6 separate regions of the Homo sapiens genome follow, and regions 2, 3, 4, 5 and 6 are each linked to region 1. Evidence: promoter capture Hi-C in 16 types of primary human blood cells and fetal thymus (Javierre and others, 2016). All regions are on one chromosome and are shown on one strand. Each heading gives the region's core, a stretch centred on a gene start or on the middle of the fragment in contact. The rest is flanking DNA. Distances are from core to core; before and after follow the strand shown. Region 1 holds the start of INA (internexin neuronal intermediate filament protein alpha). Region 2 overlaps AS3MT (arsenite methyltransferase). Region 3 overlaps CNNM2 (cyclin and CBS domain divalent metal cation transport mediator 2). Region 4 overlaps CNNM2 (cyclin and CBS domain divalent metal cation transport mediator 2). Region 5 overlaps CNNM2 (cyclin and CBS domain divalent metal cation transport mediator 2). Region 6 overlaps CNNM2 (cyclin and CBS domain divalent metal cation transport mediator 2).

Region 1 (5,126 bases), core at 1,801-4,300:
GTTGTTGTTTTTTGTTTGTTTCCTGTAGACCATGTCTGGATGACGCTACCATTGTCTAATGATGAAAGCCTTTTACAGCAAACAAGCCAGGCAAAACTGTCACTACTTCTTAGAATGTATGGGCTATAACAAGCAGAGAAAATGGAGAAGCCCAATTCAGCTGGCAGCTCTGAGTAAGTTATCCTTTTTTTGTAGAAATACTGGGCTAGCCCTCCAGAAGACCACCTAGCTCGTACTTGGAGGCTTCTAGAAGAAAAAAATGAAGTCTCAATTAGCCAAATGTGATTAATTCAGGCCATCCAGGGGTTAGGGTACATAATGAAAAGTTCAAGTTATGGATTTTGAGGCAGAAATGGAAGTACTTATTTGAATGATAATGCAATACCAAACTAACCTAAACAGTCCAAGCAGGCTTTTTTCCTTTATCAAAGGAAGTTATTGTAACAAACAGCAAATACCTGCACATCAATAAGAATTCTTTAGCTTCTGATTAAAATGTTACTTTTGAGATTTCATTCCTTTCTTGGTTCTATTTTACCAATGTTCCAAGCCCTATTAATCTCACCAAATGTAAACTTTAATCCTAGCTAGAATTATTGCAAGTTTCTGAATTATAGTCATTCTATTCAAAGGAGCTTTTATTGTACCTTGAAACCGAACCACACTATTCCAATTCTTTTCTACACCTTCCATTTACCCTGTCCCCTGCCTCTGTGCCATTTGCGGTCATAATCCCAGAATTTCTTATATAGTAAAACTGAAGACACAGTGGCCTTTGTTGGGAAGAAATAGCCAATCAATACCATCACAGGAGCTTAGAGGACAGGGAAATATGGAAAAAATACATACACTAGAACAAAGAAAAACCATCTCTGTGACTTATCACATGCACTTACAATGAAAAAAATACTAACAAAACAGGAATTTTCAAGTGGGACCTCACAGCTGCTGAGCAAATTAAGTGTTTTTTGTTTAGTGCTAAGCCATCCATGAAAGCCAAAACTGATGTTGTCTATGAGGTGACCTTTGATTGCAGGTAGCCAAGACTGATGTGTTGGTGTTGCAGGAAAAAAAAAATCAAAGCAGTTAATTGCCTAGAGATTCATAACTGGGACACGAGACAGGAGAGACATAATTTCTGAGATGGGAAGAACTCGAGATCAGCACCGTGGACAGCGCCCCGACCTTTCACGTTTTGCCAACCGGCGAACGCTTTCTTAAGGAGGAAATGTCAGCTGGTGGACAAGGGAATCGTGTGTGTGTGTGTGTGTGTGTGTGTGTGTGCTGGTGGACAAGGGAATCGTGTGTGTGTGTGTGTTGGGGAGGTGGGTAGAGCAGGGTGGTTACTACTAGCTCAAGCATCGCTCAGCTTGTTGGCTCCCAATCTCTACTTTTTGGAGCGCGAAAGTCAAGAAAATGGGATAGGACTCTTCCCAGTTCAGGATCGCATTCTTCCTTCAGCCCTGAAGCAGACCATACTCCATAAATAACTTCTAGGGCGCACAGAAAGCTTTTCAAAGTCAACCAAACAAGCCAGATAGCCGAGACAGCACCGCCCACGTAACCTGCCCCGTTGGGCTCAGTCTTACTTTGGGTGGGGCACTGTTCTCCGGGTCGCCGGTGTGTGTAGGCCCGCTTGCTGACAGACAGGCAGAGTTGGGTTTTCGAACCTCAAATAAATTTAAGGGCTTCTTTGTTTGAAGGGCTGGGGCAGGGACATAAATGAGGGGCGTTCCCTAAAATTAACATTAAAGACTCCAGGGTTTTTTGTTAACCAGCGCCTCCAGCCGCGGCTCTTCTCTCCTCTCTTTTGCCCTCCCCTTAAGTCCTGGGGCCCAGTTTTACCAGAGGAAGAGGGTACGCGCGGAAGAGGGCAGGGCACCCCTCCCCACGCCCAGCCCCGGCCCTTACCTGGTAGCCAGCTACCTCGGCACTGTGCCGCTCCTCCAGCTCCAGGATCTGCCTCTCCAAGGACTCGTTGGCCCCGCGCAGGCCCTCGATCTCGATGGTGCGCGCCTGCAGCTGGCGCCGATACTCGTGGATCTCCTCGCGGCTGGCCCGGATGGCCTCGGTGCTGCGCGCCGCCTGCTCGTTCAGGTTGGCAAACTTGGACTTGTACCATTCTTCCGCGGACTGCAGGTTCTTAGCGGCCAGGGACTCATACTGGGCGCGGATCTCCCTCAGAGCCGAGGTCAGGTCTGGTTTAGCCACAGTCACGTCCACCTCGGCCGCGGCCTGCGACGACGCCTGCAGCGTGGCCAGCAGCTCGGCTACCTCCTCGTCGTGCACCTGGCGTACGAAGGCCAGCTCGTCCAGCAGCGACTCCACCTTCTTCTCCAGGTCCAGGCGGGCCAGCGTGGCGCCGTCCACGTCGCGCTGCTGCGCCTTCAGGGCGCGCTCGGCGCCTTCGCGTCCGCGGCTCTCCTCCTCGCAGCGCGCCCGCAGCCGCTGCACCTCCTCCGCCAGCCCGTCGCGCTCCAGCAGGGCCTGCGAGCGAGCCGAGCTGGCCTCCTCCAGCTGCGCGCGCAGGTCGCGCAGCTCGCGCTGGAAGAGCTCGCCGACGCGCGACGGCTCAGCGTGGCGCTGTCGCAGCGCGGCCAGCTCGGCCTCCAACGCGCGGTTCTGCGTCTCCAGCTGATGCACCTTCTCGATGAACACGGCGAAGCGGTCGTTGAGGCCCTGCAGCTGCTCCTTCTCGTTGGTGCGGATGATCTTGTACTCGTTGGTGCGCGCCGCCGCCTGGCTCAGGTCCAGCCCGTCGGACGCCGGCGGCCGGCGATAGGCCAGGCCGAGGCCGAGCGACGAGGCCGAGGAGCAGGCGGCCGAGGAGGCCACATTGCTGCGGGACAGCGACTGCGAGCGGAAGCCGCCCGCGCCGCCGGCCCCAGAGAGGCGGGCGGACAGGCGAGAGCCATCCCCGAACACCTTGCGGTAGGAGGAGGAGGAGCACAGGTAGTGCTCCGAGCCGAAGCTCATGGTGCCGGGATCGGGGCCGGACGTGCGGCTTCAACGCGAGCTACAGAAGAAAGGAGAGGTGCGGCAGGCAGGGCGCGGCGGGGCGGTGCGCCCGGCTTTTAAGGCGCCGGGGCTGGGGCGGCGCGCTGGGGGCGGAGCTCCTGCTCAGAGTCTGGCCGGGAGAGGGAAGGGGGGCATCCAGGAGTGGGGGCGGGGAGGCGCAGTGACTACCGCAGCTGCGCGCGCGACGACCTGGGGCGCCGGGACAGGGCCATCTGCATCGGAGTCGCCCCTTTCCGCAGCGCTTCTCCCCAAGAATCGACTGCTTCGGAAGTGACTCGAGCGGAGGGGTGCCTAAACGACTGAGGTTTCCCATCCGGAAACCACACAGCTCTGTCGCATCCCTTGACCCTATCCCCTCTTCTTTAACCGACTGGGAGGTTAGGGGTTTCTGGGAGGTGTCCCCTACACCCACCCTCATCCTGAGGTGAGGCGCACAGAAAGCCTTCCCGAGGGCGAGGTCGTGTTTTTCCAGTTACAGTGAGGACCTGCAGAGCGAGCCCTTGTCCCCTTCCTCAGGGTCCCCAAGGAGAAAGGTGGGAGATGCTACGTCAGAAAGCATCTCTCCAGCTGCCCCTCTGCAGCTCCTGGGGAGGCTCCGGGCGGAAAGATGTTCAGCAAGTGCCTCTCCCAGAAGAGAGGGGAGATCAGTAAAGAAAGTGACCCCGAGCTGCGGAGAGTGGGGAGAAGCGGCGGTACAGAGGGGAAAAGAGGCCAGACTTGGAGAAGCAGGAGGCGCTGGGAATTGCTGGGGCTCATCGTTAGGGCACTAAAGCATGGCACAGGCCAGGACCACAAGCTGCTGGAAAGGGGGCTGCAGACTTTTGTGTTTAGAGCATTATATTTTAAAATATTTCGAAAGGAGCATTTTTAAACCAGGAGATTTCACCTGTAAAGAAATTGGATTTCTGGCTTCTTCTGAAAATGGGAAGAGCTGGGATGCCCACAGTGGCAGAGGTGAGTTGCCCTTGCCATTTGTATAAGAAGTGTGCTCTCCTGTTCACTACAGTCCCTGCCATTCTCCACTGAATTACGCCCCCCTTCTTAATTCATTTACTTTACCTCTCTGACCCTGTGGGCATTTGAGATTTCAGTTTGTGTAAATCCAGCAGGGCAGGTTCTCAACTGGCTTCAGAGAGCCACTCCCTGTGCAGATCTCTTTTTGGAGAAAAGAGATCCCTGCAAAAAGATTAAACTCCAGGAGTGGGGGAGAGTGCTGGTGACTGAGCCGGCCTCTTCTGCCACATGGTAGGGTTGGTGGGGCAGGGGGTGAGAATCAAAGAATGGAATCTGAAAAGATGAAGGCTGGGAGGGGTCAGTGTGGCGTCTGTAATATGTACCCACTTGCAAGCTTCTAATATCATTCAGGATGTGGATATGGCTTTGGAGAGGGAGTAGGAAGACCTTTTTAGTTATATCCCAGAATTCCAGACTGAGGGCCTTTTATTGATATTGGAATCTTCAAGGACGTAGTTCTAGGATAAGTTTTACTTCATGGGGAAAGGGGAATATGCTTGGGACAGGCCACTAAAGGAAGGGTGAAAAGGGATCTTATGGGACTTTGGAGCATATCTCTTGGCTTTGTGCTTGATGTCATGGAAGATGGTCAGGCCCTGCCACAGCCTGCCCCTCTGGTTCCTCATCACAGACCAAAGCCTTGAGTTGGAGGGACTCAATTCTGAGGTCTTTGGGCTTAGAAAGACCTGGTAAGGTGAACAATAAAAGATTGCTAACACTGCTGAGTAATGATTGTCTGCCAGTACTTGTGCTGGCACTTTTGCATAGGTTTACCTCTGAACCATGCTTCAAGGTGGCCCTCACCTCCATCTTATAGATAAGGCACCGAGGTGCGGGTGCAGCACAAGGTCACCAGCAAGCAAAGACAAGCATACATTCTCTCTTCACTACATAATTCTGCTTAGTGCAGTGAGACTCTTTTTTTTTTTTTTTTTTTTCTGAGACGGAGTTGGCCGGGTGCAGTGGCTCACACCTGTAATCCCAGCACTTTGGGAGGCCGAGATGGGCGGATCACTTGAGGTGAGGAGTTTGAGACCAGCCTGACCAACATGGTGAAACCCTGTCTCTATTAAAAATATAAAAATGAGCCGGGT
Region 2 (4,952 bases), core at 1,841-4,340, 380 kb after region 1:
TAGGTTCGATTAACCTTCCCCAACTACAAATGTACCATTTTTGAAAGTGATTTCTCAAAAAGCTTTGTGCTTTTTTTTTTTTTTTTTTGAGGCAGGGTCTTGCTCTGTCGCCCAGGCTGGGGTACAGTGTTGTGATCACGGCTCACTACAGCCTCCACATCCCGGGCTCAAAACGATCCTCCTGCCTCAGCCCCCCAAGTAACTGGGATTATAGGCATTTGCCACCGTGCCCAGCTAATTTTTGTATTTTTAGTACAGACACGGTTTCAGCATGTTGGCCAGGCTGGTCTTGACCTCCTGACCTCAAGTGGTCTGCCAGCCTCAGCCTCCCAAAGTGCTGGGATTGGCCGGGCACGGTGGCTCATGCCTGTAATCCCAGCACTTTGGGAGGCCAAGGCAGGTGGATTACCTGAGGTCAGGAGTTTGAGACCAGCTTGACCAACATGGTAAAACCCCGTCTCTACTAAAAATACAAAAATTAGCCGGCTGTGATGGTGCGCACCTGTAATCCCAGCTACTTGGGAAGCTGAGGCAGGAGAACCGCTTGAACCCAGGAGGCGGAGGTTGCGGTGAGCCAAGACCGCACCATTGCACTCTAGCCTGGGCAACAAGAGCGAAGCTCTGTCTCAAAAAAAAAAAAAAGCTGGTATTATTGGGGTTTTTTGTTTATTTGTTTTTGTTTTTTTGAGATGGAGTTGTGCTCTTGTTGCCCAGGCTGGGCAACCTAGGTGGGTGGATCACCTGGTGGCGTAAGCCACCACACCCGGCAAAGCTAGTATTATTGTAACAATGGTTTGTAACTCTACTTTTTGTTTTCCACATGATTTAAGAGACCAATGCATTTAAAATAATTATTAGTTTACGTTTTGGGGGCACAAAATGAATAAAGACATAATTTTGTGATATCAAGAACTAGAAAGACCCGGGCGTGGTAGTTCACACCTGTAATCCCAGCACTTTGGGAGGCCGAGGCTGGTGGATCATCTGATGTCAGGAGTTCGAGACCAGGCTGGCCAACATGATGAGACCCCGCCTCTACTAAAAATACAAAAAATTAGCCAGGCATGGTGGCTGGCGCACCTGTAATCCCAGCTACTTGTGAGGCTGGGGCAGGAGAATCACTTGAACCCAGGAGGCAGAGGCTGCAGTGAGCCAAGATCGTGCCACTGCACTCCAGCCTGGGTGATAGAGTGAAACTCTGTCAATGGAAAAAAAAAAAAAAGAACTAAAATAGTTGAGAACAAGCTTTAAAGGAGCAGAATTTTAGTATGTTATTGAAGTTAAGCTGTATAAATTCAAATTAGGGTGTCATAACTGTAGGATGTTAAACATTGTCAACAAAAAGGGTCAAACTCTAAAATACTTAAAAAGATTTATTCTGAGCCAAATAAGTGACCAATGGCCTGTGACACAGCCCTCAGGAGATCTGCAAACATGTGCCCAAAGTGGTCACCCTATAACTTGGTTTTATACATTTTAGAGAGACATAAGACATCAATCAATACATATAATATGTACATTGGTTCAGACCAGAAACGTGGGACAACTGGAAGTGGGGATTTCCAGGTCACAGGCAGATTCAAAGATTTTGTGATTGGCAATTGGTTGAGTTATAATCCAAAGACCTGGGATCAATAGAAGGGAGTGTCTAGGTTATGATAAGAGATTGTGGAGACCAAGGTTTTATCATGCAGATGAAGCCTCTAGGCAGCAGGCTACAGAGAGAATAGATTGTAAATGTTTCTTACCAGATTTAAAGAGTCTGTTCTATCAGTCTTAAGATCTGTTTTAATGGTAATGCTGGTCAGCAGTGTCTGAATTCCAAAAGGGAGGAGGGAATAATGAGGCATGTCCAAACTTCTCCTTCCCTTCGTGACCTGAACTAGTTTTTTAGGATAACTTTGCAATGCCTTTGCCCGACAGGAGGGGTCCGTTCAGATGGTTGAGGGTTTATAATTTTATTTTATTTTTTTATTTTTTTATTTTTTTTTATTTTTTGAGATGGAGTCTCGCTCTGTCGCCCAGGTTAGAGTGCAGTGGCATGATCTCGGCTCACTGCAACCTCCACCTCCCAGGTTCAAGGAATTCTCCTGCCTCAGCCTCCCAAGTAGCTGGGACTACAGGTGCCTGCCCCCACGCCTGGCTGATTTTTTATTTTTAGTAGAGACGGGGTTTCACTATGTTGGCCAGGCTGGTCTCGAACTCCTGACCTTGTGATCCACCCGCCTCGGCCTCCCAAAGTGCTGGGATTACAGGTGTGAGCCACCGCGCCCGGCCTAGAATTTTATTTTTGATTTACTTTCTCCGCATTCTGGCCTAGATTTGTCAGAGGCAACATCAATGGTCACCAAACTTTTATTTTATCTCACTGTGTTGCTGGGGTGGCACAGCTGCCTTCCCTGGGTCCATCTTGTGCCTTGGTGGGACCCCTATGGTCAAGGGGCTTAGAGCCAAAAGACACATAGCGAATTTGAAAGTTCTAGGCCAGACCAGGCATGGTGGTTCACCCCTGTAATCTCAGCACTTTGGGAGGCCGAGACAGGTTGGTCACCTAAGATCAGCAGTTTGAGACCAGCCTGACCAACATGGTGAAACCCTGTCTCTACTAAAAATACGAATTAGGGCTGGGCACAGTGGCTCATGCCTATAATCCCAGCACTTTGGGAGGCCAAGGTGGGTGGATCATGAGGTAAGGAGTTCGAGACCAGCCTGGCCAATATGATGAAACCCCATCTCTACTAAAAAAATAAAATAAAAATTAGCCAGGCATGGTGGCACGCACCTGTAGTCCCATCTACTCTGGAGGCTGAGGCAGAAGAATCGCTTGAACTTGGGAGGCAGAGGTTGCAGTGAGCCGAGGTCGCACCACTGCACTCCAGCCTGGGCAACAGAGCAAGACTCCATCTCGGAAAAAAAAAAAAAAAAGAAAAAAAAATTAGCCAGGCATGGTGGCACATGCCTGTAATTACAGCTACTCAGGAGGCTGAGGCAGGAGAATCACTTGAACCTGTGAGGCGGAGGTTGCAGTGAGATGAGATCACGCCACTGCACCCCAGCCTGGGTGACAGAGGAAGACTCCGTCCCCCTCCCCCACCAAAAAAAAGAAAGTTCTAGGCCAGATGGGAATGGATGTGGATAGGCATTAATAAACCCTTAAAATTTCTTAATATAAAAGCCAACAAACAAAAAGCCAAAGGTGAGGTTAAAAAATTGACTTATCTTTAACTTCTATGCATTGTGCTACTGTAATCTTGGTTTTAGTTACAGACTTACAGCAATTAGCTATACAAAACATAAGCACTGTTAAAACCTTTTAAGCTAAGGAATTTAGAGACTTCCGTTGTGCTACAGTTTTTTTTTTTGTGGTCTTTCAGTAATTTGTTCTAAAATTATTTATTTATTTATTTATTTATTTATTTATTTATTTATTTATTTTGAGACAGAGTCTCACTCTGTTGCCAGGCTGGAGTGCAGTGGCGCCATCTCAATCTCGTCTCATTGCAACCTCCGCCTCCCGGGCTCAAGCAATTCTCCTGCCTCAGCCTCCCAAGTAGCTGGGACTACAGGCGCACGCCACCATGCCCATCTAATTTATTTTTTGTATTTTAGTAGAGATGGGGTGTCACCATGTTGCCCAGGCTGGTCTTGAACTCCTGAGCTCAGGCAATCTGCCCACCTTGGCCTCCCAAAGTGCTAGGATTACAGGCTTGAGCCACTGTGCCTGGCCTGTTCTAAAATTTTAAAAAATATATATGTTATCTGCATAAATCTCATAACTCAGAGTATTAAACCTAGGAGGCTTTGACATGAGGTACCTTTATATCCTCTCAGTAATAATTTTCTTTTCATTCTACGAGAAGCAGGAAATTCTTTATGATTGGGATGGATGAAAAGGTGCCACACACATAATAACCCAGGAGGCAGAGTCCCTTATTTTACCAGCTGTTTATGCATCTGTGTGCCCATTTTTGATTTGGAGAGTCTGAAATAATTCTCTCAAAACTGGCCCTTACAGTCTCACACACCTACCTTTTGTGTGATAGGTCCCTGGGCCTAGAGAAGAGTGCTTATATAATTTTAGCAGCACGGAATTTGCAGTGAAAAGCAGATTAGGACCAGTGGGATTCCAAACGGGGGATTCTCTAACCTTAGAATATCATGATTCTGGTTTCTTTGGAAGTAAAACAAGGAGCTATAAATAACATTAATAATATGACAGTCAAAAGAGTATTCGTGTGTCAGAACAGAATAAGGAACCTATTCCACTTAGGGCACAAACTAAAAACATGAAGAAAAATTATAACCTGGTTTATCTTTAGAGGGTTATTGTAGCCAAGAAATAATTAATGATTCAATATGCACTCAAAAACAAAAGTCCAGGCTGGAAATCTAGTAACAAGTGTTATAGTTTTCCTTTGAAACCATTTCTCTCTCTAGCCTTCTTTCTTTTTTTTTTTTTTTTTTTTTTTTTTGAGACAGAGTCTCACTCTGTTGCCCAGGCTGGAGTGCAGTGGTGCAGTCTTGGCTCATTGCCCTCCACCTCCCTGGGCTCAAGCAATCCTCCCATCTCAGCCTCTTGAGTAACTGGAACTACCAGCATGCACCACCATACCCAGATAATTTTTTTGTATTTTTGGTAGAGACAGGGTTTCAACATGTTACCCAGGCTGGTGTCAAACTCCTGGCCTCAAGTGATCTGCCTGTCTCAGCCTCCCAAAGTGCTGGGATTATGAGTGTGAACTTCTGCACCCAGCTCCTCCTTTTATACTAAAGACAAATTATAGTAAGGCCAATTTATGTGCAAAATAAATTTTAGGCTTATTAAACTTTGCCTGATCATTTGCATGAAGTCCAGCAAGAGTTTGGCCAGATAGGCTCTTTTCAAGTTGGCTTTGCTGGAACTTTACCTACAAATGTTATTCCAGTCAAAGCTTTGGTAAAATAACCAAGTG
Region 3 (4,797 bases), core at 475-2,974, 330 kb after region 1:
AGTAACAATCTAAATAAAAACTGAAACCAGCACTTTTGATTTTTTAAAATTTTATTTCCTGTAATTCTTCACTGAGAAATCTCAAGTCATGTCCATAAAGTTTCATAATATAACAGGTGCAATACTGACATTTTAAAGCTTAGTAAAACTGGCTTAAGAGAATGGTTAAGTAGTTCAACAAATGCCAAATTATATTTTCTCCTTTACACTCATCAGTAGGAAATAATTCCAAGTTTCCCTGCAATAAATATACCAACTGACTTCACAATGACATCACCAACATACAGAGTTCTTACCAACCTTATTAGCACACCCTATATGTTTCCAGCCCAGAACCATCAAGGACTTCTATTCAAGTACTGAAGCAGAACTACTTTTTAGTCACAGTTGCATTGATATATTTAAGAGACCTACGTAACACATCCTATAGAGCTTCTACCAGATGGGGTGGAATACTAGGTTGCCCCCAACACTCGGGTTCCTCAGGAAAACAAGCTCCAATGTTCCCCAGTGCCCCAACTAATGAATTTAAACAGACTTATGTGAAAGGGTATCCATTTAACTTTTTTTTTTTTTTTTTGGTAGAGACAGGGTCTCACTATGTCATCATTTAACTTTTGTTTGTTTGTTTTTGTTTTTGAGACGGAGTCTCACTCTGTCACCCAGGCTGGAGTGCAGTGGTGCAATCTCGGCTCACTGCAAGCTCCGCCTCCCAGGTTCATGCCATTCTCCTGGCTCAGCTTCCCGAGTAGCTGGGACTACAGGCACCCGCCACCACGCCCAGCCAATTTTTCATATTGTTAGTAGAGACGGGGTTTCACCATGTTAACCAGGATGGTCTCGATTTCCTGACCTCATGATCCGCCAGTCTTGGCCTCCTAAAGTGCTGGGATTACAGGCGTGAGCCACTGCGCCCGGCCCCCATCATTTAACATTTTTAAAATATTATTAAAATCAGTTTCTGGCCAGCGTGGTGGCTCACGCCTATAATCCCAGCCCTTTGGGAGGCCAAGGCAGGACGACTGTTTGAGCCCAGGAGTTCAAGACAAGCCTGGACATTATAGCAAAGACTCTGACTCTCCCAAAAAATTTAAAAAATTGGCCGGGCGTGGTGGCTCACGCCTGTGATCCCAGAACTTTGGGAGGCCGAGGTGGGTGGATCAACTGAGGTCGGGAGCTCGAGACCAGCCTGACCAACATGGAGAAACCCTGTCTCTACTAAAAATACAAAATTAGCCGGGTGTGGTGGCGCATGCCTGTGATCCCAGCTCCTCGGGAGGCTGAGGCAGGAGAATAGCTTGAACCTAGGAGGCAGAGGTTGCAGTGAGCCGAGATTGTGCCATTGCACTCCAGCCTGGGCAACAAGAGCGAAATTCCTGTCTCAAAAAAAAAAAAAATTAGCCAGGCATGGCGGCACACACCTATAGTGCCAGCTACTCAAGAGGCTGAGGTGGGAGGACTGCTAGAGCCCAGAAGGTCAATATTGCGGTGAGCTAGGATCAGACCACTGCACCCCAGCCTGGGCAACAAAGTGAGACCTTGTCTGTAAAAAAAAAAAAAAAGAAAAAAAAAAGTTTCTAAAATTTTTAGACAACCATAAAACACACAGCAAAATAAAGGTAGATTCAGTTTGGCAAGTTATCCTTAAAAGCATGCAAGCGTGCTCAAAGCCCACAGAATGACTCAGGCTTAAAAGAAATACTTTCAGCCAGGCATGGTGGCTCATCCCCATAATCCCAGCACTTTGGGAGGCCAAAGCAGGCAGATCACTTGAGATCAAGAATTCGAAACCAGCCTGGCCAACATGGTGAAACCCTGTCTCTACTAAAAATACAAAAATTATCAGGGCATGGTGGCACACGCTTGTAATCCCAGATACTCAGGAGGCTGAGGCAGGAGGATCACTTGAACACAGGAGGTGGAGGTTGCAGTAAGCCAAGACTGCGCCACTACACTCCAGCCTGGGTGACAGAGTGAGACTCCGCCTCAAAAAAAACCCAGCCTGGCCAATATAGTAAAACTCTGTCTCTACTAAAAAAATACAAAAATTAGCCAGCTATGGTGGCAGGCGCCTGTAGTCCCAGCTACTTGGGAGGTTGAGGCAGGAGAATTGCTTGAATCCAAGAGGCAGAGGTTGCAGTGAGCTGAGATCACACCACTGCACTCAAGCCTGGGTGACAGAATGAGACTCCATCTCAAAAAAAAAAAAAAAAAAAAAAAAGAGAAAGAAAGAATTCCTATTGCCCCCAGGAGGAACTAATATTACAGAAAGGGAAAAATATATATATGAGTACACCTCACTTAAAGATAGAGATATGTCCTAATGTAGCTTCTGTAAAACAAATTGCTGAAAAGTGACTTTTATCTTGCAATTCTTGCTTTATTATAAAGCATCCCCTTAAAATTAAAATTACAGTGAGTTTTCCCAAATTATTTTCTTTTTCTTTTTTTTGAGACAGGGTCTCACGTTGTCCAGGCTGGAGTGTACTGGTTTAATCATAGCTCTATACAACCTTGAATTCCTGGGCTTAAGCGATCCTCCAGCCTCAGTGTCATGAGTAGCTGGGAGTGCAGGTGCGCATCACCACACCCGGCTAATTTTTGTAAAGATGGGGTCTCAGCTTTATTGTCCAGGCTGGTCTAGAACTCTTAGCTCCAAGCAATCCTCCCGCCTCAAGCCTCCCAAAGTGCTAAGATTACAGATGTGAGCCACCTCACCCAGGCCTAAATCACCTTCAAAGAAAAATAATAACTGACAAAATATTAATATCATACTAAATAACTACATATTAAAAAATACATGCACAGTTGAAAAATATGGTAAGACTCTGTTTCTCATATTATTTCCACAAGTGAATTAATGTTTAAGGCAATTTTGCTAAACTCCTTATCAGCCTGAAACTGTAACCTTCATAACTTACAAACATTTCATTTTTACCTTAGAAGTTATTTTTCCTCCATCAAATTAATCAACTGAGTATTTTCTAGACATTTTTGCCTGACAACGCCTATGCTCTTGTTCAGGAAATATTACCACATAATGATTAATACCAATATCTGCCTGTGACTAACTCTCGGCCCAAAGTCCTTCCTCTGGGTGCCCATAGCATCCTGCATGTATCTCCACGACAGGAGCTGTCATGCTGGAATCATGTATTTGAGTCTTTTCTCCCCTATTAGATAGTAAGTTCTATAGTGGTCGTGCTTTAGGTATCTTTTATAACTAATAGAGTGCTAGGAACATATCATGGACTCAATAAACCAGTATTATCAAACAGATTGGTAAACTGTGACTTTACTGATAAGCTTATTCACAACCCAATAGTTAGGATGGAGTGTGTCTCCTCATCAGAAGGTAGTAGTGATTTATTTGTTGTTGTTGTTATTATTATTATTGTTATTATTATTATTTGAGATGGAGTTTCACTCTTGTTGCCCAAGCTGGAGTACAGTGGCGCAATCTCGGCTCACTGCAACCTCCGCCCTCCAGATTCAAGCACCTTCCAGATTCCTGCCTCAGCTTCCCTAGTAGCTGGGATTACAGGCACGCGCCACCACGCGCGTATTTTTAGTATTTTCTCAGTAGAGATGGGGTTTCTCCATATTGGCCAGGCTGGTCTCGAACTTCTGACCTCAAGTGATCTGCCTGTCTCGGCCTCCCAAAGTGCTAGAATTACAGGCATGAGCCACTGTGCCCGGCCACTAGATACCATTTAAATCACTACTACCGCCAGGTGTGGTGGCTCATGCCTGTAATCCCAGCACTTTGGGAGGCTGAGGCAGGCGGATTACCTGAGGTCGGGAGTTCAAGATCAGCCTGACCAACATGGAGAAACCCCTTCTCTACTAAAAATACAAAATTAGCCAGGCGTGGTGGCATGTGCCTGTAATCCCAGCTCCTCAGGAGGCTGAGGCAGGAGAATTGCTTGAATCGGGGAGGCGGAGGTTGCGGTGAGCCGAGATCACACCACTGCACTCCAGCCTGGGCAACACAGCAAGACTCCACCTCAAATAAATAAATAAATGGTATCTAGTGAACCTGACAAAGCAATGCTCATTGTCAGATATGAGTCCATTGCCTAAATTTAGCTTTAATGCACAAGAGCTGGACACTGTAGTTGGTGCTGTGTCAGTCAGAGAATACCTAAGTTCTCCAAACTCAAGGTTCTCTCCTAAAAAGGCAGAGTGCCATAAAAGAGAGCAGCGTATGTGAGGTCAGACAGCTTCCAGTGCCAGGTCTACTTCTGCTTACTAACTGCATGATCTTTGACTTTTCGGGCCCCGGTTATGAAGATAATATCTATATTTTGCCTCTCTCTCTCTATCATTGAAAGGGGGGTTGGTAAAGCCTTGTCCTTTTTGGCATCTTCAAATCAATCATCCTCTCCCCATCCCAACCACCCAGCTGTCATCATTTCTTACCAGACTTCTGCAAAGGCCTCCAAATGCCAGTCTCTGTCTCTCCACATCTTTTCTCTCTCCTCATCAAAAGATTTTCCACACAGAAGACCTTTTGAAAATGCAACTCTAATAATGTCATGCTCATGTACCCCCAATACTTCAAGGACATATTGTTGCTCTTAGAAGAAATCCTGGAACCCTTAGTGTGGCCTGCAAGGTCTGCCTGCTGGAGTCCCTGCTTGCTTCTGCTGACTTCGCCAATAGCATCTTGTACCACCCAACCTACCCCTCAACATGCACACACACAAATTATTTGTGTTCCAGCCACACTAATCATCTTTCAGCTCCTTGAGTGTACAATGTTACCTCCCACCTTATCATGTCTCCCTGCAATAG
Region 4 (4,399 bases), core at 984-3,483, 290 kb after region 1:
AGAACGAGACATTCACTCAAACTGTATGCCAAAGTATGTGTGTGTATGCATACTTCTGGGGAAAAGGTCTATACTTTGTATAAGATTCTTAAAATGACATGTCAAAACTTTGAGAATCCCAGACCTATAGAATTTCTTTGTGGTCAAACGAAAGCACTTTTGTAGTATCTGTGTCACTTTCATTTGCACCTGTGAGCATTCACAGGTTTCAGTCTAAAACGTATTAACACCCCTGACTACAGTAAGGGTCTTGAGACCCTATCTTTGTCCCACGCCTTTTCAATATTTCTATTATTATTTTTTTGAAACAGCCTCGCTCTGTTGCCCAGGCTGGAATGCACTAGGTGCAATCCCGGCTCACTGCAACCTCCGCCTCCCAGGTTCAAGTGATTCTCCTGCCTCAGCCTCCCAAGTAGCTGGGATTACAGGCGCCCACCACCACTCCCGGCTAAGTTTTTTTGTATTTTTAATAGAGACGGGGTTTCACCAGGTTACCGAGGCTGGTCTCAAACTCCTGACCTCAGGTGATCCACCCGCCTCGGCCTCCCAAAGTGCTGGGATTACAGGCATGAGCCACCATGCCCGGCCTTTTCAATATTTCTAAATCAATTAAGTAGCGTGGTGCATACAGCTGATTAACAGGTCTCCAGAATTATCTGCTGCCACAGTTCAGGTCTTCACATTGAGGCCTCAGAGAGAAGACAGTGGACTCTGACCTTTGGCTCTGGTCTCATTATCTTTGGAACCTTAATTTCCAAAGGAAAATAGTGATAATTCCTGCCCCACATTTCACACAACTGTTGGGGGTGACAATCTTGAACCAAAGATGTAGGGTGTTTTATTTTTGTTAGAGCAGAGGTTGCAAACCATTTTTGACTATGTATTCTATGAAAATGTTGAGTACACCTCCCTAATTTATATTTACTTATAAATTATATATATTACAAAATATATACATCATGAAATCCATATAAAAATAAGCTTGGCCGGGCGCAGTGGCTCAAGCCTGTAATCCCAGCACTTTGGGAGGCCGAGGCGGGCAGATCACGAGGTCAGCAGTTCGAGACCATCCTCGCCAACATGGTGAAACCCCACCTCTACTAAAAATACAAAAAAATTAGCCAGGCGTGGTGGTGGGCACCTGTGGTCCCAGCTACTCAGGAGGCTGGGGCAGGAGAATGGCGTGAACCTGGGAGGCGGAGCTTGCAGTGAGCCGAGATCACGCCACTGCACTCCAGTCTGGGTGACAGAGCGAGACTCCGTCTCAAAATAATAATAATAATAATAAGCTTAATGTATATGCATATTCATTCATATATATATATGTAAGTCCTACTGCATCCCAAGGCACAGCTACATGCAATTTACCTTGAGGACTACCGCTTTAGAATATATCATTTTCTTTATGGTTCTCTAATTTCTTCTTCTTCCTTCAAACTCTCCACCCTCAGCCTTTGTACCCTAAACCCTCTGGTTTTCTTCCTCTGAACATTCTCCTTCAGCAGTTTACTTCCTGCTTCCATCTTTTAAATTTGAGCTTTCATATTAGGTTTTCTGCTCTTCTGGGGACACCCTCCCTTGGCAATGTTGTCTTACTAACCATCAGCAGAAATCTGTGCTTGTTCCTTCTGTGTTCATCTGCAACTACTGAAATTTATACTTGAATCAAAATATCTCACTATTAGCAAATCACCTAGCCCACCCTACCCATATGTCAACACTTACACAAAATCCCTATTATTGCTTATCCAGCTTCTGCTGAATCACCACCTCTAGTAATATAATTCTACGATCTGGAGGATAAAAACTTTTTTTTTTTTTTTTTGAGACTGAGTCTTGCACTGTCACCCCGGCTGGAGTGCAGTGGCGCAATCTCGGGTCACTGCAAGCTCCGCCTCCCAGGTTCACAGCATTCTCCTGCCTCAGCCTCCCAAGTAGCTGGGACTACAGGTACCTGCCACCATGCCCAGCTGACTTTTTTTTTTAAGTAGAGACATGGTTTCATCGTGTTAGCCAGGATGGTCTCAATCTCTTGACCTCGTGATCCGCCCACCTCGGCCTCCCAAAGTACTGGTATTACAGGCGTGAGCCACCGCGCCCAGCCACAGGACATTTTCAAATGGCTCTACTTTTTGGAAATTCTACTTTGATTAAGCTGAAACTAACTTCCCTATAACTTTCACATTAATTCCAGTTTGGCTTCTGAGGCTTTACAAATGGTCCATCACCACCCATACTCGGGAGAATCACTTGAACCCGGGAGGCAGAGGTTGCAGTGAGCCGAGATCACACCACTGCACTCCAGCCTGGGTGACAGAGTGAGACCGCCTCAAAAAAATAAGATAGAAGTAAGGACAAGATCACACAATTATATTTCAGTTATAATCTAGGCTTAGATTGTCAAATATCTAGTTGTAGAGTGAGCACTACCCTAAGCCTTTTACACACTCAAGTCTAAATCACATGCATTATCTTTGTAATCTTAAAATTTAGTCACATGATGACTTTCTCTAAGTAAAACAGGGCAAGTGAACATCGGAGCTAGTCCAAGCCCTATAAACCAAAACAGGTACTGAACATGACAGGTACATCAGGGCAAGCACAGACATGGTCTGGAGGTAAGGTGCAATCACTTTGGCACCAAGCTAACAGGTAAACAGATAACACTAGATATTTAAAAAACTTGTGGGTCTCCAAGCTGATGGATAATACTCTGAAGTCTGAACATGCCAACCATTTAGGAGACATCACTCCTCAGTTGGCAGGGCCCATTCACTTTGTTTAGAAGGCCCCCCTTTCCCAATCCTTTTACTAGTCCCTTGAACAGCTGTCATTAAATGATTACACTGTTGCTAAAAGACAGCTATTCTATCAATCTGAGCTGGTCATGTAAACAAAACAAATATTCTGCTGTAGAATAAGGCATAAAGTACTTATCTAGCCCCTAGGAACTTCCCAGGTAACTCAAGTTGTCTGGCCACGCAGTTTGGAGACTTGATGGCTAGAAAGAACATGACTAAGAGTAGCCAGTAGGATGTCAAGGAAGAACCTGAAGGAGAACATAAGTGAGACAGGGTCTGCTGGTTAGTTTAGAGCCATTCCCTTGGAAGAAAGGGACCATAAACACTTCCTGTATCTAGCTTTGATGAGGAGGAGCTTGGTATGTAAAGAAGCTTTCAGAGTTCTCAATGATGTTGACACAGAAATTCTCTCAGCCCCTTTGCCGGACTCACAGCAGAATTTTAAAATTTTAAAATTCTTTTTAAAGAATTTTGGCTATATCAGACAAAATAGGAATATACAGAGGAGGACTGCTAATTACATGAAACAAGAGGGTGAGAAGGGGAAAAACTTGTTTCAGATGGAAAGGATCCGCTATTCAAATTGTTTTAGAAAAAAAAGATAAAACAATCTGCAGCAATTTAGAATTCTCAAGGTCTGCCAGGGTTTCCTACACAAAGCAGGAATTTTGCCCAACTGCTGCAGAAAGTTAAAAAGAAAAAAAAGACTTTCCCTTCGTTATTTCCTTTTCATGTTAGAAAATATTAGCAAAATTCATCGCTTCTCGGCCTTTTGGCTAAGATCAAGTGTAGAAAATATTAGCAAAATTCAGTCTTTTTTTCTGTCCTTAACAAACTGACATTTAAAATAAGAGTAAAGCCCGGGCACAGTGGTCAAGCCTATAATCCCAGCCCTTTGGGAGGCTGAGGTGGGTGGATCATTTGAGGTCAGGAGTTAGAGACCAGCCTGGCCAACATGGTGAAACACCACCTCTACTAAAAATACAAAAATTAGCCAGGCGTAGTGACAGGCGCCTGTAGTCCCAGCTACTTGGGAGAATCACTTGAACCCGGGAGGCAGAGGTTGCAGTGAGCCGAGATCACACCACTGCACTCCAGCCTGGGTGACAGAGTGAGACCGTCTCAAAAAAATAAGATAGAAGTAAGGACAAGATTACACAATTATATTTCAGTTATAATCTAGGCTTAGATTGTCAAATATCTAGTTGTAGAGCGAGCACTACCCTAAGCCTTTTACACATATTCCTTTAAAATTACTAGTAACATCAAAAAATTTTCCTGCAAGAATCTTATACACATGAAGACCTGGAGCCATCACTTAAAAATTAAAATTCCCCTACTTAATGGCTACTGGGACTAAGAAATTATTTCTGATTATTTCTCTCATTCTGTTAATATATAACACTTCCTAAAGCCATCTTACTCCAGCTTTAATTGGCCAATTTAACCTTGGCTATTCTACATGTCAACACCACATAAAAACCCTATAATTGTTTATCCAGCTTCTGCTGAATCCTCCTCCCTAGTAAAACAATTCCACACATCCATCAGGGGACAATAAAGAACATTCCCAAATAGCTTTATTTATTGTCTTGGAT
Region 5 (5,076 bases), core at 214-2,713, 270 kb after region 1:
TCCCAGGTTCAAGCAGTTCTCCTGCCTCAGCCTCCTATGTAGCTGTGATTACAGGTGTGCACCACCATGCTTGGCTAATTTTTGTATTTTTAGCAGAGACGGGGTTTCACCATGTTGGCCAGGCTGGTCTTGTACTCCTGACCTCAGGTGATCCACCCACCTTGGCCTCCCAAAGTGCTGGGATTACAGGTGTGAGACACCGCACCTGGCCAACTGTACTTCTATATACCAGCAGCCAACAATTATTAAATAGAAATTTTAGAATGAAATCATTGACAATAGTATCAACGAATCATATACTTAAGAATGAACTAGCAAATAAAATCTCTATACAGAAAACTAGAAATATTACTGAAAGAAATTAGGCCAGACACAGTGGCTCAGGTCTGTAATCCTATCACTTTGGGAGCCGAGGTGGGTGGATCACTTGAGGTCATGAGTTCGAGACCAGCCTGGCCAACAGGGAAAAACCCCGTCTCTACTAAAAATACAAAAAAATTAGCTGGGTGTGGTGGCGCATGCCCATAATCCCAGCTACTCGGGAGGCTGAGGAAGGAGAATCACTTTAACCTGGAGGGGGGAAAAAAAAAGAAATTAAAGACCATTCAATAATGGAGGGCTATAAGCCATGTTCAGGAATTTGGATGTTGAAACACTAGTTCTTTCTCAAGTTGATCTACAGATTCAATACAATCCAAATCAAAAATCCAGCAGGTTGTATGTGGAAACTGATACCAATTATAAAATTTATGTGAAAACACAAAAGGTCCAAGAAAAGCTGAGACGATCTAGAAGAAGATATGTAAAAGTTTGAGCGAAACAGACTCACACACACCTAAACAAAGGAATCTCATGCACTGCTGTTGGAGATGTAAACTGAGACAGTAACTTTGGAAAACCATTTGGCATTCTTTACTAAAACCAAACACAAGCATATCCTATGGCCTTGGTATACTCAAAGTGTGGTCCACAGCCAGTCCAACTGGCTCCTGACAAATGCAGACTCTCAGGCTCTACCCTTGAACTACTGAAGCAGAATCTACCTTTTAACAAGATTCCCAGGAAACTGATGTGCACAATACAGTTTGAGAAGCACTGCCTTATGATCCAGCAATTCCACTTCCTGGCACACACTTATCAGAAATGCACACAGATGTCCACCAAAAGACATGTTCGAGAATATTCATAGCAACACTATTCATAATAGCTAAAAACAAGAAAACTACCTAAATGTTCAAAAATAGAAAGAATAAAGTGTGGTATAATCACGCAATGAGGCTGAGCATGGTGGCTCACGCCTGTAATCCAGCACTTAGGGAGGCTGAGGCGGGCAGATCACCTGAGGTCGGGAGTTCGAGACCAACCTGGCCAACATGGTGAAACCCCATTGCTACTAAATACAAAAAAATTAGCCAGGCTTGGTGGCAGGTGCCTGTAATTCCAGCTACTTGGGAGGCTGAGGTAGGAGAATCGCTTGAACCCGGGGCGGGGGTGGGGGCAGAGGTTGCAGTGAGCCGAGATTGCGCCACTGCACTCCAGCCTGGAGACAGAGCAAGACTCCATCTCAAAAAAAAAAAAAAAAAAAAAAAAAATTCATGCAATGGAGTACTACTCAGCAATGAGAATGCACAGTCTACAATACAACTCACAAATATAATGCTGTGTAAAAGAAATCATATCAGAAGAATACACCTTGTATGTTTTCATTTATATAAAGTATAAAAACAGGAAAAATTGATGTTAATGTCAGGACAGTGGTTACCCGGGGGGATACAGTAACTAGGAGAGAATAGTGTTTTAAAAAAAAGATAGAGTCTCGCTCTGGTGCCCAGGCTGGAGTGCAGTGGCGCGATCTTGGCTCAATGCAACCACAGCATCCTGGGTTTAAGTGATTTCCGGCTAATTTTTGTATTTTTAGTAGAGACAGGGTTTCACCATGTTAGCCAGGCTGGTCTCAAACTTCTGACCTCAAGTGATCTGCTTGGCTCAGCCTCCCAAAGTGCTAGGATTACAGGCATGAGCCAACGCACCCAGTTTATTTCATGACATGCATAATTCTACATGGATGGGAAAACCCATCAAGCTATATACTAGTAACTTTTTGCATACTTTTCTGTATACACGTTATAATTTAAAAGTTCACTTAAAAAAGTACTAGAAGGAGGGCTAGGTGTGGTAGCTTATGCCTGTAATCCCAGTACTTTGGGAAGCTGAGGCAGGCGGATTACCTGAGGTCAGAGGTTGGCGACCAGCTTGGCCAACATGGTGAAACCCTGTCTCTACTAAAACCACAAAAATTATCCAGGTATGGTGGCTCGTGCGTGTAATCCCAGCTACTCAGGAGGCTGAGGCCATGAGAATCGCTTGGACCCAGGAGGCGGAGGTTGCAGTGAGCTGAGACCATGCCACTGCACTCCAGCCTGGGCAACAGAGTGAGACTCCTATTAAAAAAAAAAAAAAAGATTCACACATGTTATAGCATGTATGCATACTTCATTCCTTTTTATGGCTGAATAATAGTCCATAGCATGGATACACCACATTTATTTACCCATTTACCAAATGATGAACATTTGGGTTGTTTCCACTTTTTAAGTATTATAAATAATGCCGCTATGAACAACTGCGTACAAGTTTTTATGTGAATATATGTTTTTCTTTCTCTTGAGCATATACCTAGTAGCAGAATTGCAGGGTCATATGGTAAATCTATGTTTAGCATTTGGAGTAACTGCCAAACTATTTCAGAGCAGTTAGACCATTCCACATTACCTCCACCAATGTATAAGGATTCCAACCAGCCAGGCGCAGTGGCTCACGCCTGTAATCCCTGCACTTTGGGAGGCTGAGGCAAGTGGATCACCTGAGGCTGGGAGTTCGAAACAAGTCTGACCAACATGGAGAAACCCCCTCTCTACTAAAAATACAAAATTAGCCGGGTGTGGTGGCGCATGCCTGTAATCCCAGCTACTCAGGAGACTGAGGCAGGAGAATCACTCGAACCCAGGAGGTGGAGGCTGCAGTGGGCCAAGATCACGCCATTGCACTCCAGCCTGGGCGACAAAAGCGAAACTCTGTCTCAAAAAAAAAAAAAAAAAGATTCCAGTCTTGTCAGCCACATCCTCGCCAGCCCAGGCTTGTTATCTTTTTCTATTATAGCCGTCCTAGTGAGTACAAAGTGCTGTCTTGTAGTTTTGATTTGTATTTCCCATCTTTTCACGTGCTTATTGTTCATTTGTACATCCTTGTTAGAGAAATGTCTATTAAGATCCTTTGCCCATTTTTAAATTGGATTGTCTTTTTACTATTAAGTTGTATCCAGAATAAAGAACTCTTACAGTCCCTTATCAGATATAATCTGCAAAAATATTCTCATATTCTGTGGGTTCTTTTCACTTCCTTGATGGTATCCTTTAGGAGCAGAAATTTTTAACTGTGATGTCCAATTCATCAATTTTCTTCTGTGGTTGCTTTTGCTTTTGGTGTCATATCTAAGAAAGCTTTACCTAATCCAAAGTCATGAAGGTTTATTCCTGTTTTCTTCTAGGTGTTTTATAGTTTTATTATTTATTTATTTATTTGGGAGAAAGTCTTGCTCTGATCACCCAGGCTGGGGCGCAGTGGCAGGACCTCGGCTCACTGCAACCTCTGCCTCCCGATTCAAGTGATTCTCCTGTGTCTCAGCCTCCCAAGTAGCTGGGATTACAGGCATGCACCTGGCTATTTTTGTATTTTTAGTATACAGGGGGTTTCACCATTTTGGCTAGGCTGGTCTCGAACTCCTGACCTCAAATGATCCACCCACCTCAGCCTCCCAAAGTGCTGGAATTACAGGTATGAGCCAGCGCACCTGGCCTGTTTTATAGCTTTAGTTCGTACATTTAGGTCTCTGATATATTTTTAGTTCATTTTTGTGTAGGATATAAGGAAGGGGTCTATTTCCATTCTTTTGCATGTGGATATCCAATTGTCTCAGCACACTGTTTTGTTGAAAAGACTATGAGAATGAATAGTCTACAAATAGATAAGCTCTTTTCTTTCCTCCATTGACTCATCTGGCATCCTTGTGGGGCTGGGATGGGGCAGACATCAATTGACCATAAATATTAGGGTTTATTTCTAGTCTCAATTCTATTCCATTGATCTATGCTTATCCTTTGGCCACTAACACAGAGTCTTCATTACTGTAGCTGTGTAATAAGATTTTTTCCCCCAATTTTTTGTATTGCAGTAAAACATACATAAGATTTACCATTTTAACCATTTTTTTAACTGTACAGTTCAGTGGCACTGAGTACATTCACACTGTTGTACAACCATCACCAACACCCATCTCCACACCTCTTTTAATCCTGCAAAACTAAAATGCATTCAACAATTTCCCATATTCCCCTCTCCACAGCCCCTGACAACCACCCTAATACTTTCTATCTCTATAATTTTGACTAATCTAAGTTCTTCATATAAGTAGAATCATATAGTAATTGTCTTTTTGTGACCGGCTTATTTCACTTAGTATACTATCTTCAAGGTCCATCCATGTTGTAGCATATGTCAGAATTTCTTCCTTCCTAAAACAGAACATATTCCATTGTTGGTAAATACCACATTTTGCTTACCCATTCATCCACTGATGGACAGTTGGTTGGCTTCTATGTTTTAGCAACTGTGAATAATACTATTATAAACATGGTGTACAGGCCAGGTACAGTGGCTCATGCCTGCAATCCCAGCACTCTGGGAAGCCAAGGAGGGCAGATCACTTGAGGTCAGGAGTTCAAGACCAGACTGGCCAACATGGCAAAACCCCATCTCTACTAAAATACAAAAATTAGCTGGGCATGGTAGTACATACCTGTAATCCCAGCACTTTGGGAGGCCAAGTCAGTGGATCATTTGAGGTCAGGAGTTCGAGAACAGCCTGGCCAATATGGTGAAACCCTTACTCTACTAAAAATGAGCCAGGTGTGGTGGCACGCACCTGTAATCCCAGCTACTTGGGAGGGAAAGGCACAAGAATTGCTTGAACCCAGGAGGCCGAGGCTGTAGTGAGCCGAGATTGCACCACTGCACTCC
Region 6 (5,024 bases), core at 1,500-3,999, 310 kb after region 1:
TCACTTACCAAATAGGCCAAAAAAAGAAAAATATGTTAAAGATGAATATAACCAGTGTTAGTAAGGCCAACTGAAACACACGGACATTACTTACATAAGCAAAAACCTTAAACTTCATCAACAGTTAAGTAGATTATGGTAGAGTCATACAAAAAAAGGCCATGCAGCTGCTAAAATGAAGACAGCAAATCTACAGGTATGCACAGCCACCATACCCTGGGCCAAGTTCTGAAAAACCTTCATTTTAAAACAAAATGTACACTGCAGTTTCATTTCTGAAAAAAACAGCCACAAAACCCAACTGGCTATGTTTATATCTGCATAGAAAAAGGTATAAAAGGAAATAAATTCCTAATAATGGCGACAAGTAAGAGTAGAATGAGGGGGTAAGTGACTTCCTATACCTCTGTATTATCTTAAATTTTATAATGGGCACTTAAAAAAACCAATAAACAAAATTATCTATGTTACACAGCATCACTTTCCAAACACAAATAGTTAACGTGATACCTTCATCTACAAAAGCACCATTCTTTCCCCTTTGTTTACTGGGTGACTTTCTTAAAAGGTCCCAGAGACTTTTTTTTTTTTCTTTTTTTTTTTTTTAGGGACGAGGTCTCTAAGTCACCATAGTGTTTGCAGAAAAAAAAAAAGGATGGGGTCTCACTCTGTCACCCAGGCTGGATTGTGTAAATGGCACAATCATAGCTCACTGCAGCCTTGAACTCCTGGGCTCAAGGGATCCTCCCACCTCAGCCTACTGAGTAACCAGGACTAGAGGCAAGTGCCACCAGGACCAGCTAATTTTTAGATTTTTTTTTTTTTTGTAGAGACAGGGTCTCACCATCTTGTCCAGGCTGGTCTCAAACTCCTGGGCTCACATGATTATCCTACCTTGGCCTCCCAAAGTGTTGGGATTATAGGCATGAGCCACCACACCAAGCCCCAGAGACTAACTTTAACTAGAGTCACCAAGCCAGGAAAGAACACATTACAAAACAGGAATCTTTCAATAAGTCTCTTCCCTTCCAGGGTGACACTTGAGAAATGAATTCAGGTTTCCCAGTAACAACAAACTGGAGAACCAACACAAGAACTGAACCAATGCCTGAAGAAGGGGGGTGAACTGGCCCAGGGAGGAAACAGAGCAGGTCAAAATTCCCATGCTGATCAGTACTGGTACTGTGCCTGTGAACAGCCACTCTACTTCAGCCTGGGCAACATTGTGAGACCCTATCTCTAAAAAAGGAACTGAACCAAAAGGACAAGTCAATAGCAAATTTTTTTCTGAGAATAGGCAACATCTGGAATGGGTGAGAGCCAGGGTGGGCAAACTTTCTGTAAAGAGCCAGGCAGTAAGTATTTTAGGCTACGCAGGCTGTACAGTCTCTACTGAAACTACCCTACTCTTGCCCTTATAGCACAAAAGCAGACATGGGTAACACATAAATGAATAGGCATGGCTGTATTCCAATCAAAATTTATTTATGACACTGAAATTTGAATTTCATGTAATTTTCACATATCACAATTATTTTCAAGACAGCATTTCATGCTGTTGCCCAGACTGGAGTGCAGGGGCACAATCATGGCTACTGCAGCCTCAAACTCCTCAGCTCAAACAATCCTCCCACCTCAACCTCCCAAGTAGCTGGGACCATAAGTATGCACCACCACACCTGGCTAAAATAGTATTCTTTTACTTTCGACCATTTAAAAATAAAATTCTTTACTCCTGGGGCATACAAAAGCAGGTGGCAGGCCACAGGTAGTTTATATCAGAGGATAATTTTACAAATCTCAAAAAGAAAGAGTAAAAATAAGTAAGCAAAGAGTCTCTAATAAAATAGTGTCTGGATTCTTCACATACAAAAATTCTTTCAAGAGCTTTAGAAAAAAATACAGTTAATAAGGCAGGCACGGTGGCTCATACCTGTAATCCCAGCACTTTGGGAGGCCGAGGTGGGCGGATCACCTGAGGTCAGGAGCTTGAGACCAGCCTGACCAACATGGAGAAACCCCGTCTCCACTAAAAATACAAAATTAGCCAGGCGTGGTGGTGCACGCCTGTAATCCCAGCTACTCGGGAGGCTGAGGCAGGAGAATCACTTGAACCCAGAGGCAGAGGTTGCGGTGAGCTGAGATCGCAACACTGCACTCCAGCCTGGGCAACAAAGAGCAAAACTCCGCCTCAAGAAAACAAACAAAACAGTGAACCACAACACCAATTGCCGCTATTATAGAGTAGTGTTTTCTGAAATAGCCGAAATAATTTACAATATTAAAAGACTGCCAGTCGGTGGAGAAATACAAAGCAAAACTACAACTAAGATAGCACTACTGGCTGGGCATGGTGGCTCACGCCTGTAATCCCAGCACTTTGGGAGGCCGAGGCGGGCAAATCACAAGGTCACGAGTTCGAGACCAGCCTGGCCAACATGGTGAAACCCCGTCCCTACTAAAAATACAAAAATTAGCTAGGCGTGGTGGCAGGCACCTGTAATTCTAGCTACTCGGGAGGCTGAGGCAGGAGAATCGTTTGAACCCCAGAGGCGGAGATTTCAGTGAGTTGAGATTGCCCCATTGCACTCCAACCTGGGCGACAGGGCGAGACTCCGCCTCAAAAAAAAGCACTACTAGGCGCAGTGCAGTGGCTCATGCCTGTAGTCCCAGCACTTTGGGAGGCTGAGGTGGGCATATCACTTGAGCCCAGGAGTTCAAAACTAGCCTGGACAACATGGCAAATCCCTGTCTCTACAAAAAATAGAAAAAATTAGCCAGGCATGGTGGTGCACACCTGTAATCCCAGCTACTCGGAAAGTTTAAGTGGGAGGATTACTTGAGCCCAGGAGGTGGAGACTGCAGTAAGCCAAGATCATTCCACTGCATTCTAGCCTGGGTGACAGAGTGAGACCCTGTCTCAAAAAAAAAAAAAAAAAAAAAGACAGCACTGGCTGGGCACAAGTGGCTCATGCCTGTAACCCCAGCACTTTGAGAAGCCAAGGCAAGAATATTGCTTGAGCCCAGGAGTTTGAGACCAGACTAGGCAACATAGTCAGATGCTGTCTCTACAAAAAAATTAGCCTGGCATGGTGGCGTGCACCTGTATGTAGTCCCAGCTACTCAGTGCAATGAGGCGGAAGGATCACTTGAGCCACAGAGGTCAAGGTTGCAATGAGCTATAATCGCACCACTGACCAGCCTGAGGCAGAGCAAGACCCTGTCTCAAAGAAAAAAAAAAAAAAGCACTACACTCCCAGTAGCATGGTTATAACTCACATGCCAAGTGTTGACAAAGATGTGGAAAATAACCAGGTTGGGTGGCTCACATCTGTAATCCCAGCACTTTGGGAGGCCAAGGCGGGCAGATCACAAGGTTAGGAGTTCGAGACAAGCCTGGTCAATATGGTGAAACCCTGTCTCTACTAAAAATACAAAAATTAGCCGGGCTTGGTGCTGGGCACCTGTAGTCCCAGCTACTTGGGAGGCTAAGGCAGGAGAATCACTTGAACCCAGGAGGCAGAGGTTACAGTCAGCCGAGATTGCGCCATTGCACTCCAGCCTAGGTGACAGAGCCAGACTCCGTCTCAAACAAAAACAAAACAAAACAACAACAACAACAACAACAAAAAGATGTGGAAAAACCAAAACCCTCAGACATTGCTGGTTGTAAAATGGTACATACAGCCAAGTTGGAGAACAGTTTGGCAGCTTCTTGAAAAGTAAAATATATATATATTCTTACTATATGACCCAGAAACTTCACTCTTAAGTATCTCCACAAGAGAAATGAAAACATGTCCACACAAAGACTTCATGCAAGTGCCCACAGGGAATTATTATTTTGAGACAGAGTCTCACTGTGTCGCTCAGGCTGGAGCACAGTGACACAATCTCAGCTCATTGCCACCTCCGCCTCCCAGGTTCAAGCGATTCTCCTGCCTCAGCCTCCCACGTAGCTGGGATTACAGGCACTTGCCACCATGCCTGGCTAACTTTGTATTTTTAGTAGAGACGGGGTTTCACCATGTTGGCCAGTCTGGGCAGGAACTCCTGACCTCAGGTGATCCGCCCGCCTCGGCCCCCCAAAGTGCTGGGATTACAGGCATGAGCTCCCGCGCCCAGCCTTGGAGCGTTATTAATAACAGCCTAAACCTGGACACAATACAAATGCCCATCAACTAGCAAATGGGTAACAGAATGTGGTATATCCATGCAATCAAATACAATTAATCGGCATAAAGGAACAAACAACTTATACATGCTACACCATGGCTGAGCCTCAAAAACATTTTGCTAAGTGAAAGTAGCCAAACAAAAAAGACTACCTATGATTCCTTTTATAGGAAATTTCTAGAAAAGTCAAATCTATAGAGACAGAAAGCATAACAGTGTTTGCCAGAGGCTGGAGATGAAAGCAGGGATTGACCCAGAAGAAAGGAAACTTCCAGGGACAAAGCAGTGTTCTAAAACTGGGTTGAGGTGGCAATTCCCAACTCTATAAATTTACTTTTACAAATCACTGGATTGTATGCTTACATGGGTGGGTTTTATGGTATGTAAATTATACCTCAATAAAACCAGTTTAGGAGGAGAAAGGAGGCCAGGCACAGTGGCTCCCACCTATAATCCCAGCTACTCAGGAGGCTGAGGTGGGAGGACTGTTTGTGGCCAGGAGTTCAAGACCATCCTGGGCAACACAGCAAGACCCCTATCTCTAAAAGAAATTTTTTAAAAAACGTAGCGAAGTATGTTGGCATGCACCTGTAATCCCAGATACTGGGGAGGCTGACATGGGAGGATCCTCTGAGCCCAGAAATTCGAGGCTAAAGTGAGCTGGATCACACCAGACCCCAGGTAGCCCCATGGACCTACCAGATTGCTCATAGCTCTCTGCATTCTTCCAGACACTTCCATGATTCTGTGCCTTAATTAAGTACCTCCTCCTAGAAACTTCATTTATATCCTGCCCCACTCCTCATCCCACCTCACTCCCAAGGAGACTGCATATTTTCAATCTTCCC

The links. Contacts are between HindIII fragments. The CHiCAGO score rates a contact against its expected background, and 5 or more counts as called.
Region 2: a fragment that was not itself captured here is called in contact with the fragment with the promoter of INA in region 1 in 2 of 17 cell types (erythroblasts and M2 macrophages); the score reaches 8.3 in erythroblasts.
Region 3: a contact is called between a fragment that was not itself captured here and the fragment with the promoter of INA in region 1, in 3 of 17 cell types (endothelial precursors, M0 macrophages and M1 macrophages). The highest score is 10.2, in endothelial precursors.
Region 4: a fragment that was not itself captured here is called in contact with the fragment with the promoter of INA in region 1 in 3 of 17 cell types (endothelial precursors, M0 macrophages and M1 macrophages); the score reaches 7.3 in endothelial precursors.
Region 5: a fragment that was not itself captured here is called in contact with the fragment with the promoter of INA in region 1 in 1 of 17 cell types (endothelial precursors); the score reaches 5.5 in endothelial precursors.
Region 6: a contact is called between a fragment that was not itself captured here and the fragment with the promoter of INA in region 1, in 1 of 17 cell types (endothelial precursors). The highest score is 5.4, in endothelial precursors.

What each region holds. Positions count from the first base shown.
Region 1 is chr10:103,275,062-103,280,187 of GRCh38, reverse strand. INA (internexin neuronal intermediate filament protein alpha) reads right to left here and starts at 3,050. Exons shown (of 3, transcript NM_032727.4): 1 at 1,912-3,050. The coding sequence starts at 2,976. RefSeq lists an enhancer at 2,031-2,635. The HindIII fragment of the contact is 2,856 bases long and covers 1,513-4,368 here.
Region 2 is chr10:102,891,469-102,896,420 of GRCh38, reverse strand. All of the region lies in intron 10 of AS3MT (arsenite methyltransferase), which reads right to left. The region is part of intron 14 of BORCS7-ASMT (BORCS7-ASMT readthrough (NMD candidate)); the gene reads right to left. Among named protein-coding and RNA genes, the nearest start is that of CNNM2, 24 kb to the left of the region's middle. The HindIII fragment of the contact is 3,686 bases long and covers 1,248-4,933 here.
Region 3 is chr10:102,948,406-102,953,202 of GRCh38, reverse strand. The region is part of intron 1 of CNNM2 (cyclin and CBS domain divalent metal cation transport mediator 2); the gene reads right to left. Among named protein-coding and RNA genes, the nearest start is that of CNNM2, 33 kb to the right of the region's middle. The HindIII fragment of the contact is 3,168 bases long and covers 141-3,308 here.
Region 4 is chr10:102,984,206-102,988,604 of GRCh38, reverse strand. The region is part of intron 1 of CNNM2 (cyclin and CBS domain divalent metal cation transport mediator 2); the gene reads right to left. Among named protein-coding and RNA genes, the nearest start is that of CNNM2, 68 kb to the right of the region's middle. The HindIII fragment of the contact is 1,884 bases long and covers 1,292-3,175 here.
Region 5 is chr10:103,000,502-103,005,577 of GRCh38, reverse strand. All of the region lies in intron 1 of CNNM2 (cyclin and CBS domain divalent metal cation transport mediator 2), which reads right to left. Among named protein-coding and RNA genes, the nearest start is that of CNNM2, 85 kb to the right of the region's middle. The HindIII fragment of the contact is 4,079 bases long and covers 1-3,502 here.
Region 6 is chr10:102,966,830-102,971,853 of GRCh38, reverse strand. All of the region lies in intron 1 of CNNM2 (cyclin and CBS domain divalent metal cation transport mediator 2), which reads right to left. Among named protein-coding and RNA genes, the nearest start is that of CNNM2, 51 kb to the right of the region's middle. The HindIII fragment of the contact is 6,484 bases long and covers 1-5,024 here.